Linked DNA regions of Homo sapiens: regions 1 and 2 are each linked to region 3. The links are contacts of gene promoters, found by promoter capture Hi-C in blood cells and fetal thymus (Javierre and others, 2016). All regions are on one chromosome and are shown on one strand. Each heading gives the region's core, a stretch centred on a gene start or on the middle of the fragment in contact. The rest is flanking DNA. Distances are from core to core; before and after follow the strand shown. Region 1 overlaps MX1 (MX dynamin like GTPase 1). Region 2 overlaps MX1 (MX dynamin like GTPase 1). Region 3 holds the start of BACE2 (beta-secretase 2).

What was found. Contacts are between HindIII fragments. The CHiCAGO score rates a contact against its expected background, and 5 or more counts as called.
Region 1: a contact is called between a fragment that was not itself captured here and the fragment with the promoter of BACE2 in region 3, in 2 of 17 cell types (naive B cells and total B cells). The highest score is 5.4, in naive B cells.
Region 2: a contact is called between a fragment that was not itself captured here and the fragment with the promoter of BACE2 in region 3, in 1 of 17 cell types (total B cells). The highest score is 5.9, in total B cells.

The regions. Positions count from the first base shown.
Region 1 is chr21:41,444,370-41,447,267 of GRCh38, reverse strand. It overlaps MX1 (MX dynamin like GTPase 1), which reads right to left. Exons shown (of 17, transcript NM_002462.5): 12 at 1,698-1,820; 13 at 1,127-1,268. Among named protein-coding and RNA genes, the nearest start is that of MX1, 20 kb to the right of the region's middle. The HindIII fragment of the contact is 1,035 bases long and covers 917-1,951 here.
Region 2 is chr21:41,426,853-41,429,812 of GRCh38, reverse strand. MX1 (MX dynamin like GTPase 1) reads right to left here. Exons shown (of 17, transcript NM_002462.5): 2 at 2,509-2,607; 3 at 1,947-2,058. Among named protein-coding and RNA genes, the nearest start is that of MX1, 2.1 kb to the right of the region's middle. The HindIII fragment of the contact is 848 bases long and covers 1,273-2,120 here.
Region 3 is chr21:41,166,637-41,169,522 of GRCh38, reverse strand. It overlaps BACE2 (beta-secretase 2), which reads right to left and starts at 1,363. Exons shown (of 9, transcript NM_012105.5): 1 at 948-1,363. The coding sequence starts at 1,259. MIR3197 (microRNA 3197) reads right to left here and starts at 1,966; the gene lies at 1,894-1,966. RefSeq lists a silencer at 1,355-1,804. The HindIII fragment of the contact is 3,467 bases long and covers 1-2,764 here.

The DNA of each region.
Region 1 (2,898 bases), core at 185-2,684, 280 kb before region 3:
CCTAGTGTCCTTGTGGGAGGAGATGAGGACACACACACTGAGGGACAACCACATGAGGACCCAATGAGAAGAGGCCATCTGCAAGGCAAGGAGAGAGGCCTTAGAAGGAACCAGCTCCACCAACATCTTGATCTTGGACTTCCAGCCTCCAGAACTGTAAGAAAATAAATTTCTACTGTTTAAGCCCCCCCAAGTCTGTGGTACTTTGTTATGACAGCCAAAGCCAACCGCTACACACAGACACAAGCCAGTTGGTTTATCAATTCATCAGTGGATGGTCATTTGGGTTCAGTGATATAGAAGAGAGCAAACATGGCTTTAGTTGTCACTAGCTCCTTATCCTGACCATCCTCCCCAACTGCCCCACTCTTCTCTGTCTTAAGCCAACGTATCAGGTTTACCACGGTATTGACTCATTGCTATGGTCTACATGTTGGTGTCCCCTAAAAATTCCTATGTTGAAACTTAATCCCCAGTGTGATGGTATCAACAGAGGAGACCTTTAGGAAGGATTGGGTTATGAGCACTCTGCCCGCATAATGGCATTCCAGGCATATCTTGTTTTATTGCACTTCACTGATACCGTATTTTTTACAAATTGAAAGTCTGTGGCAATCCCATGTCAAGCAAATCAGCACCATTTTTTTCCAGTAGCACATGCTCACTTTTTGTTTCTGTACCAGCAATTTTTTAGCAATAAGGTGTTTTAAACTAAGGTACATACATATTTTTTAGGCCTAATGCTATTACATACTTAATAGACTGCAGTAGGGCATAAATGAACTGTTTATGCACCAGGAACCAAGAAGTTTATATGACTTGCATTATTGCAATATTCTTTTTGTCTGGAACTGAACCCACAATATCTCTGAGGTATGCCTGTGGTACCCCTGTAAAAAAGAGGTCCGAGGAAGCTTGTTCGTCCCTTATCCCATGAGAGGACACAGCTAGAAGGTGCCATCTTTGAAGCAGAGAACAAGCTCTCACCAGACACCAAATTTCCTGATTCCTTAAGAATAGATTTCTCACCTCCAGAACAATGAGCAATAAGTTTCTACTGTTTATAAATGACCCAGTCTCAGGTATTCGGTTGTAGCAGCCCAAAAGAAGGGACTAAGACACTCACCTTCTTGAAAATTGTTTTCAATTATTGTACTCCATTTGTGGAACTCGTGTCGGAGTCTGGTAAACAGCCGAATGTCTTCCTCCCCTACAGTTTCCTCTCCTTGCATGAGAGCAGTGATGTCCTGATTAAAGGCATTAACTTTCTGTCAAGAAGAAAAACATCAGTATAAGTGGATAGACTTCAAATCCAAGTGTCAAGGTCATTTGGAGGCCGTGCCTATGTGGAGGGTGGGGAGTCATTCTTTGCTTTCTTATGGGACACTGTGGATCAGGGGAAAGAAGAGGTTTTGGCACTAGAAAATCCTATCCCACCCCTTACTGCCTTAGGGATCTGGGTGATGCTCGTGACAGAGTAGGCACAACGCAGCCTGAGCATCCCTCGCTGCTGACTCCACCCCCACATCTGCACTCCCTGCCCTGCCTCCCTCAGCCCTGTCCACCCTTTGAGTGCTACGGGCCAGATGTCTTTGGATCAGCCTTGGGGGAGTGAAGAAGGAAGTGCATAAGGCCCAGGGTCCCTTTTTTGACCATGACATGTGCTTCTCCAGCTCCATGCAGCTGGCAACACTCACATCTATCAGGAAGAACATTTTTTCATTTTCGTCTTCCGGTATGTCGACACCATACTTTTGTAGCTCCTCTGTTATTCTCTGGTGAGTCTCCTTGATTTGATTTTCTAACAGGGGCAGAGATTTCTGAGGAAAATGGAGAGAAAATAATGGAAATGTGTAAAGATGAACAGAGAATGAAAAGGAGGTCCCGGGCCTCCCTCTGCAGAGGAGTTGTGTGGGCCATTTGACTTCCTGGCTTCCTCTAAAAGGAAGCTTTTCCAGACCCGGGGGAGGTGCAGGGGGGCACACACTGGGGGCACTGTTTTCTGCCCAGGTCTTCCCCCTTCCCCACTCCTGCGACAGCAGCCTCATGAGCAGCACTGTGGCACCCACTGTGCATGGGTCCTAGGCCCCGGCAGAGTGACCCGGGAGCAGTTCCTCTGTGGTCATATTAGGTAAACTCTCTGGAGGGAGACTGGAGAGATCCACTTGTCTAGTAGGTTCTGAAAAAGTGGCATTTGGAGCAATTTGAGATTCAACAACTTTTATGTTGCTTGCAATCAATAAAAAGTGATCAGAGACTTATGTTTTTAACAATACGGTTGACGCCATATGCTGGCTCACCCTTCCACGGCAAACATCTAAAAATGCCAGCTGACATGTGAAAGCTGCACCTTTAAATGTATCGGTGGACTCACAAGTTAGTGAGGGGTAGTCAGAGGCCAGCCCCAGTAACAGTGGCCAGGCAGGGGCTCAAGGAGAAGGCAGCAATGAAGCCCGGCTCAGCCACAAGGGCATCTGTCTAGGTAAGAAAATTCGAACGGGAACTTATGAACCTGACTTGGTGCAGAGGCAAAAAATCAATCCCCATGGGCTTGCTCGAGGTGGGGAATCTAATAAGGAAGCATCCTCTTTCTGCATACAGTGGGACCCCAGAGAGCTCTGCACTCATCATGGTCGGCTGGAAACAACCCTGTTATGCACCCGCATTCCTGGGGACCACGTGGAAGACCTTGCACTCTGGTGCTGAGTTGAAAATTTGAAAAAGGCCAGTCTGGTCAACATGGTGAAACCCTGTCTCTACTAAAAATACAAAAATTAGCCAGGCATGGTGGTGGGCACCTGTAATCCCAGCTACTCAGGAGGCTGAGGTAGGAGAATTGCTTGAACCCAGGAGGCAGAGGTTGCAGTGAGCTGAGATCACACCACTGCACTCCAGCCT
Region 2 (2,960 bases), core at 447-2,946, 260 kb before region 3:
CCTCAGGCTCCCAAGTAGCTGGGACTACAGGTGCACGCCACCAGACCCGGCTAATTTTTTGTATTTATTTAGTAGAGATGGGGTCTCACAGTGTTAGCCAGGATGGTCTCAATTTCCTGACCTCGTAATCTGCCCACCTCTTTTGTCAGGTAGGATTGGGATGGTTATAAAAGGTAATCCATTGTAAACGGTACTTATGGAGTCTGACAATCTGGGAATTTATTCCCTAAAACTCCCATGCCTTTGGAAATACCTCATGTGCCCAGGGCATCCCAGGCTCGATATCAAAGACCACCACTTCATCTGCCTCTCAGGAGTACCAGTCTTCTGGGCTATGGTTGCCTCAGTTGGCCTTTCTGCAGCCAGATAAGGAGCATCATTGAGACCAGGACTTGTACCACATGACCACAGGTTCCACTCAATCAGCTGAAACAGGACTTGGTGAGTAGATTCCCTTCCCTAATTTGCTTCATAAAATGAGATTCTCTGAAAGCTAAACCTTATGGGTTTTGTCTGTAAACCATAAACGTTTGTACCTTTCCCTGATCATTCGGAACATCAGTTTGGATTTCAGGGGCAGGGCAATCTCGGGAGTTCAAACCGGTTTCTTACTCCTCCATGGAACTTGGCATCCAGCTGCAGTCTTCAAACTGAACTGAGTGCAGGCACCAGTTCCGGCCTTGGAAGAGCCAAGAGGTGGCGACTCCTAGCTCTCCATCCCAAATTGCTCCTAAAATGTCTTGGCTGCACCCTGTGTTTGGAGAGGAGGCTGCAGGGTTCCAGCCCTCCATCCACTCGCTACTGCACAGCCCCACTGGTCAGAGCCTGAGATGTTAGGTGGGCATGGATGGGGTTATGCACCAGGCTCTTCTCACATCCTGAGCAACTGCCCCTGTGCAGGGGCTTCCTTCCGTCCCTGCCCAGGGCAGGTTTGTGCCCATGATATATAATAATGACTTGTGACCCTAATGTCTCAAAATGGAGGCACTCACTAGGTAGCATTAAGCCCATATTAAGTTTCTTTCTTTAGAAACAATAAACATACGTGTTTCTCACTTTCGCTCATAGTAAAGGGGTTTTTCTTCAAAGTGGTAAGCATGTGTGTGGTAGACTAAGGGGATGAGGGAACACTTGCTGTGGCCCAATGCCACCAGAGACCCCAGTGAATAAGGACCCAGTGGCACGCACACCTGTGGAGGATCGCAAAAGCGACAAGGGACTAGCAATGTCTGAAGCGTTTTCGGAATCTTGGCAGTGAGATTTCTGAAAGCTTATTCCTGACTTTGGCAGCTGGGCAGCCGAGGACGAGGTCCCTGGAGGAACAGATTTCCCTCCACCACCCAGCACTAGAGCGGGACTTCTGGACTCCCTGGAGTGGCTGTCAGTGGGCTGGCCTCCAGAGCCTCCACTGTGGGTCCTTACCCTATCACTCCCTTTAATCATTGTACTGTGAATGTCTGCTCAATTGTGTGTGTGAATCTCTCACAATAAATCCTGAATTTGAGAATCACTCATTGCCTGCTGGGTCACCCTGAAACCTTTTGGGAAAGTGAAAGTTAGCGCACAGGTGCAGGAAACCTGGTTAACATAACAACTAAAATGAACCTGACTGGGTGCAGTGGCTCGTGCCTGTAATCCCAGTACTTTGGGAAGCCAAGGCGGGTGGATCATTTGAGGCCAGGAGTTTGAAACCAGCCTGGCCAATATGGTGAAATGCTGTCTCTACTAAACACATACAAATTAGCCAGGTGTGGTGATGTGTGCCTGTAATCCCAGCTACTCAGGAGACTGAGGCACCAGAATCGCTTGAACCTGGGAGGCGGGGGTTGCAGTGAGCTGAGATGGCGCCACTGCACTCCAGCCTGGGCGACAGAGTGAGACCTTGTCTCAAAAAAAAGAAAGAAAGAAAAGAAAGAACCCAACGGCCCACTTCATTTCTGCCTTACCTTGGAATGGTGGCTGGATGGCGGCGTTCTTCACTCCAGATTTCAGGGAGTGGGAGTCTTCCTGTAGCCTCCGACCCAGAACCGATCTCCTCGCAGTGTGGCCACAGAATTCCTGCAGTGAGGGTAAAGGTGGCATCCAGGGTTGTCAGGGGGTTCTCTCCTTGTGGTGAAGCTTCCTCAGCTCAGACCCCATAGAGGAGCAGGGATGGGAGGTAGGATTCAGCCCCCTTCCTCTCCCAAAACTCCTAATAAGGACCACCTACTGCCTACGTTCTAGGAAATGCCTAAGATGGAAGAGGCTACACTTTCCCAACATAATCCAGTCTAGTTTTTTCTTTTTTTATAAGCTTTTAAGTTCTGGGGTACATGTGCAGAACGTGCAGGTTTGTTACATAGGTATACATGTGCCAATTCAGTCTAGTTTTAAAACTAACTCTTGCAGGACTGACATTCACCTTTTCTTCTGAAAGCGTTTTTCCCCCCAAACCCTGCTGGTATTTAAATTTGTTATGAATAAAAGAGAGAACATCTTGCCCTTTAGACCAAATGCACTGCTACCTACCAAAGCCCCTGAGCTGGGTGAGCAGGTGGGCGGCAAGGGCGCGAGGGAGGCGTGTCCACCGTGACACTGGGATTCCTGGCCGGCAACTGCGGTCCAAGGCTGAAAGATGACACAGCCATTTTAGGAGCCCTTTGGGACTGACACCGGTGGTGGAGGTAGAGGCGCGGTTAGCATCACTGGACTCTACTTCCCAGTAACAAACGTGATTTAAAATTTAACCAAATAACTTGGGCCATCCCAATTGCCCAGCTCGGCAGCACCTGCTGTGAGTGTTGGTGGGATGGGAGCGCAGGTCTCAGCTGTGCCCGGGCTCCTTCTGCCACCCCCGGGACTGTCCTGCCTCCCTTCGTCCACCGCACCCACTCCACGATCCCGGCCAACTACGATGGACCCCGAGGGTGCGTCAGCCCCACGCGCCGGGGAGGCCCCAGGCATGGCATCCACTGGGGCGG
Region 3 (2,886 bases), core at 114-2,613:
CAAATCCCACTTGGATTAGACAGTTTGAAAGTAGGAGGGGGCAGATCAATTGGGATTTTTTTTTTTTTTTTTTCAGATCACTGTGCTTGGGAACATTTGTTTCTTGCTACAAAAAGTGTTAGTAAATGAACATCAGAGTAAGAGAAAAGGAAAGCTGTTTGATTTTATTTTTGTGTTGTAATCGGGATACCACTTGGTCCCCGGACACCTCACTCAGCCCCTGTTTTTTTCCCGGTAGCTGGAATGCTTTTCACACTCTGCACACCCGCGTGTAGATGCATCGCTCCGTGCAGAGGGGCAGGGCCGCCGGATGAGCGAGGACACAGCTGACAAACCAACTCCGAGAAAGGAAAGCGGGCGCAGGGGAGACGCTGCTCCTTCCTCAGAGCAGCAAGCGAGCCACTTCTTAACCGGGTTGCTTTTAGCTGAGCTCATGCATAAATCCTTTTTAAAGGGTACTGCGCCTTTGGAAGCCGGCCACGAGCCTCTTTAGCAATGAGACAGCATGGTGGTGGGGTGGGGGGGGGGCGGGGGGGAGGGAGGGTATGAACACGAGGTGATTTTCCCCATAATAGCCCGTCGCCCAAGGCCCACCGCTCCGTCTCCCGCTGGAAGTAGGTGTCGCCCGCAAGAAGGAAATCACGTTATTGGAGGCGGCAAGTTCCAGGTCTCCTCTCCCGCCCAGCCCCGCGGAGGGGGAGCTCACAAGTTCTGAAACACTCGCGCACACCCCTCAGTGCGCCCCGGGCGGGGGCTGCCGTCCTCCGCGACTCAAGAGCGAGCGCCCCCGCTCCCCGGCCCACCCGAGCCCCTCTGCGTTCCCCGCTCTTCTGTGCGGGGACAGCTGCTGCTTTGGGGGCGACGCTAAGCCGCGTGGAGGCGTCTCTGGACAGCCCCCTCCCTCCAACGAGCCCGAAAAGCCCGCGGCAGCAGCCGGGGGTCCCTACCTTCTGCGGGGGGGTCCCGATCAGCATCTCCAGGTAGTAGCCGCGGCCAGAGTCCCCCTGCAGGTTGTCTACCATGGCCAAGAAGTTGGCGGCGCCCGCGGGGGACGCCAGGGCAGGCTCCAGGGCGAGCGCCAAGCCGTCGGCGTGGCGCTCGGCAGGGGTCCCGGGTCCCGGGGTGGGCGCAACTACGCGGTTCGTGGCCGCGGCCACCCGGAGGGGCAGCGTGAAGGGCGCGGGGGCCAGCTCCGGGGCGGCGCGCAGGAGCCACTGGGCCAGCAGAGGCAGCAGCAGCGCCCGGGCCAGTGCGCCCATGCCCACGGCGGGGCCCGGGGGGCGCGCCCAGCCTAGCCGGTCCCGTCCCGTCCGGCAGCCGCGGCTCAGCGACTCGGCCGGCGCGCGGGGCTGCGGGCAGGGATGGGCGCGCACCGGGACCGGCGGCGGCGGGGAGGACGGGAGGAGGGCCCAGGGGAGGAGGCTCGCGGGAGGGGAGGAGGCTCGCGGGAGGGGAGAAGGCGGAGGCCGGGGAGGCGGGCGCGGAGGCGCAGAGCCGCCCCAGCCCGCGCCGCCAAGTTGGGCAAGTTCTTCTCCGCTGCCCCCTCTGGCGGCCGCGACTGCCCCGCAGCGGCCCAGCCCCTCCCCCGCGGCCAAGGTCACAGCGGGGCTCGGGGGGCGCCGGGGTCCACCTGCGCCTGCCCTCCCCACCCTCGCCGGGCTCAGGCCGCGCCTCTTCCCCGGGAAACTCGAGTCCCGAATTTCCTCGGAAAGCGCCCCAGCGGCCACGGCCAACGGATGTGACGAGGCTCATCTGATACCGGGGGGAAAGTTTCGAGAACCCTTAAAGGGGCAGCGAGGGCCTGAACTAGGGCCCCGGCCCCGCGCGCTTGGGGGTCCGCGGGGGTCTATTCGCCCGGCAGTGGCGGGAGCTTCCGGGGGTGACTCGGAGGTCAGCGAGGAGAGCGGTGGATCGGGAAGGAGCCTGGAGCCTCGCGCGCCTTTCCGAGCCTGCGCCTCCCCTCGCCAAGCTCCTCCGCCTCATTTCAGTCGCCGGGTCTGGCTGCTTTCGAGGCGTTTCCCGTCCGCTGCCCCCGAGCCCCCGCCCTCAGTCCAGCCCGTTCCCCGGCCTCATCCCCCGGCGGCCCCTGGGTGGTTTTAAAGAGGTCTCAGTGGAGGCTGGGAGGGTGGAGGGTGGAAGGAGGCAGAGGAGGATGCGAGAGCTTTGGAGAATTTTCCCTAAAAATCGGGGGAGGTGGGGGGCGTGGCTGCTGCTGGCGCCTGGCCCCAGCCTCATTGCCCCCCCTTACTCCCTCTGTTGCCCACAGCTAGCTGCGAAGCTGGGCTTCACCCCAGCCACCTTCCCCCCACCCCCGCCCCCTTCGCCCCCTCCGCCGCGCCCCTGTCCCTAATGCAGGTCAGATGCTACTGGAACCCGCTGCCTCCCCTGGCACCCAGCCCTCAGGCCACCTAGTAAGTTGCTGTCAGGATCCCAAATCAGGGCCACGAGTCCACCCTGCTGTGATCCCTGCCCTTCTCCCCCACCTCCCCTTCTATCCCCAGCCAGCTCTCTGCGGACTGTCTAATTAATACTCGTTTAGCCATAGACGCCAAGACGCAGAAATGCGTTGAGTAATGCAAGCAACGAGGGTTATTTTATTTTAGATACTAAAGGCAGGGGGGACAATTAGACAAGCTAAAGTCCATCGATTTCTACAGAAACAAGGAATAGAAAATTCTTTGTACCTCCTCCAGCTGAATTATGTTGGCTGTTTTAAAAAACAAACAAGCCCATCTTCAAACAGTGGGGAGTTAGAAGCCAAGCTTCCCCGAATCACTGCAATTTTCAGCTACTTCTACTCAAGATTTGATTTTTATTCCTGTGTTCCCAATTTTAGAATCACGTCTAGCTCTGCAAGGGACCTTTATGTCAGAGATCTTCAAATGT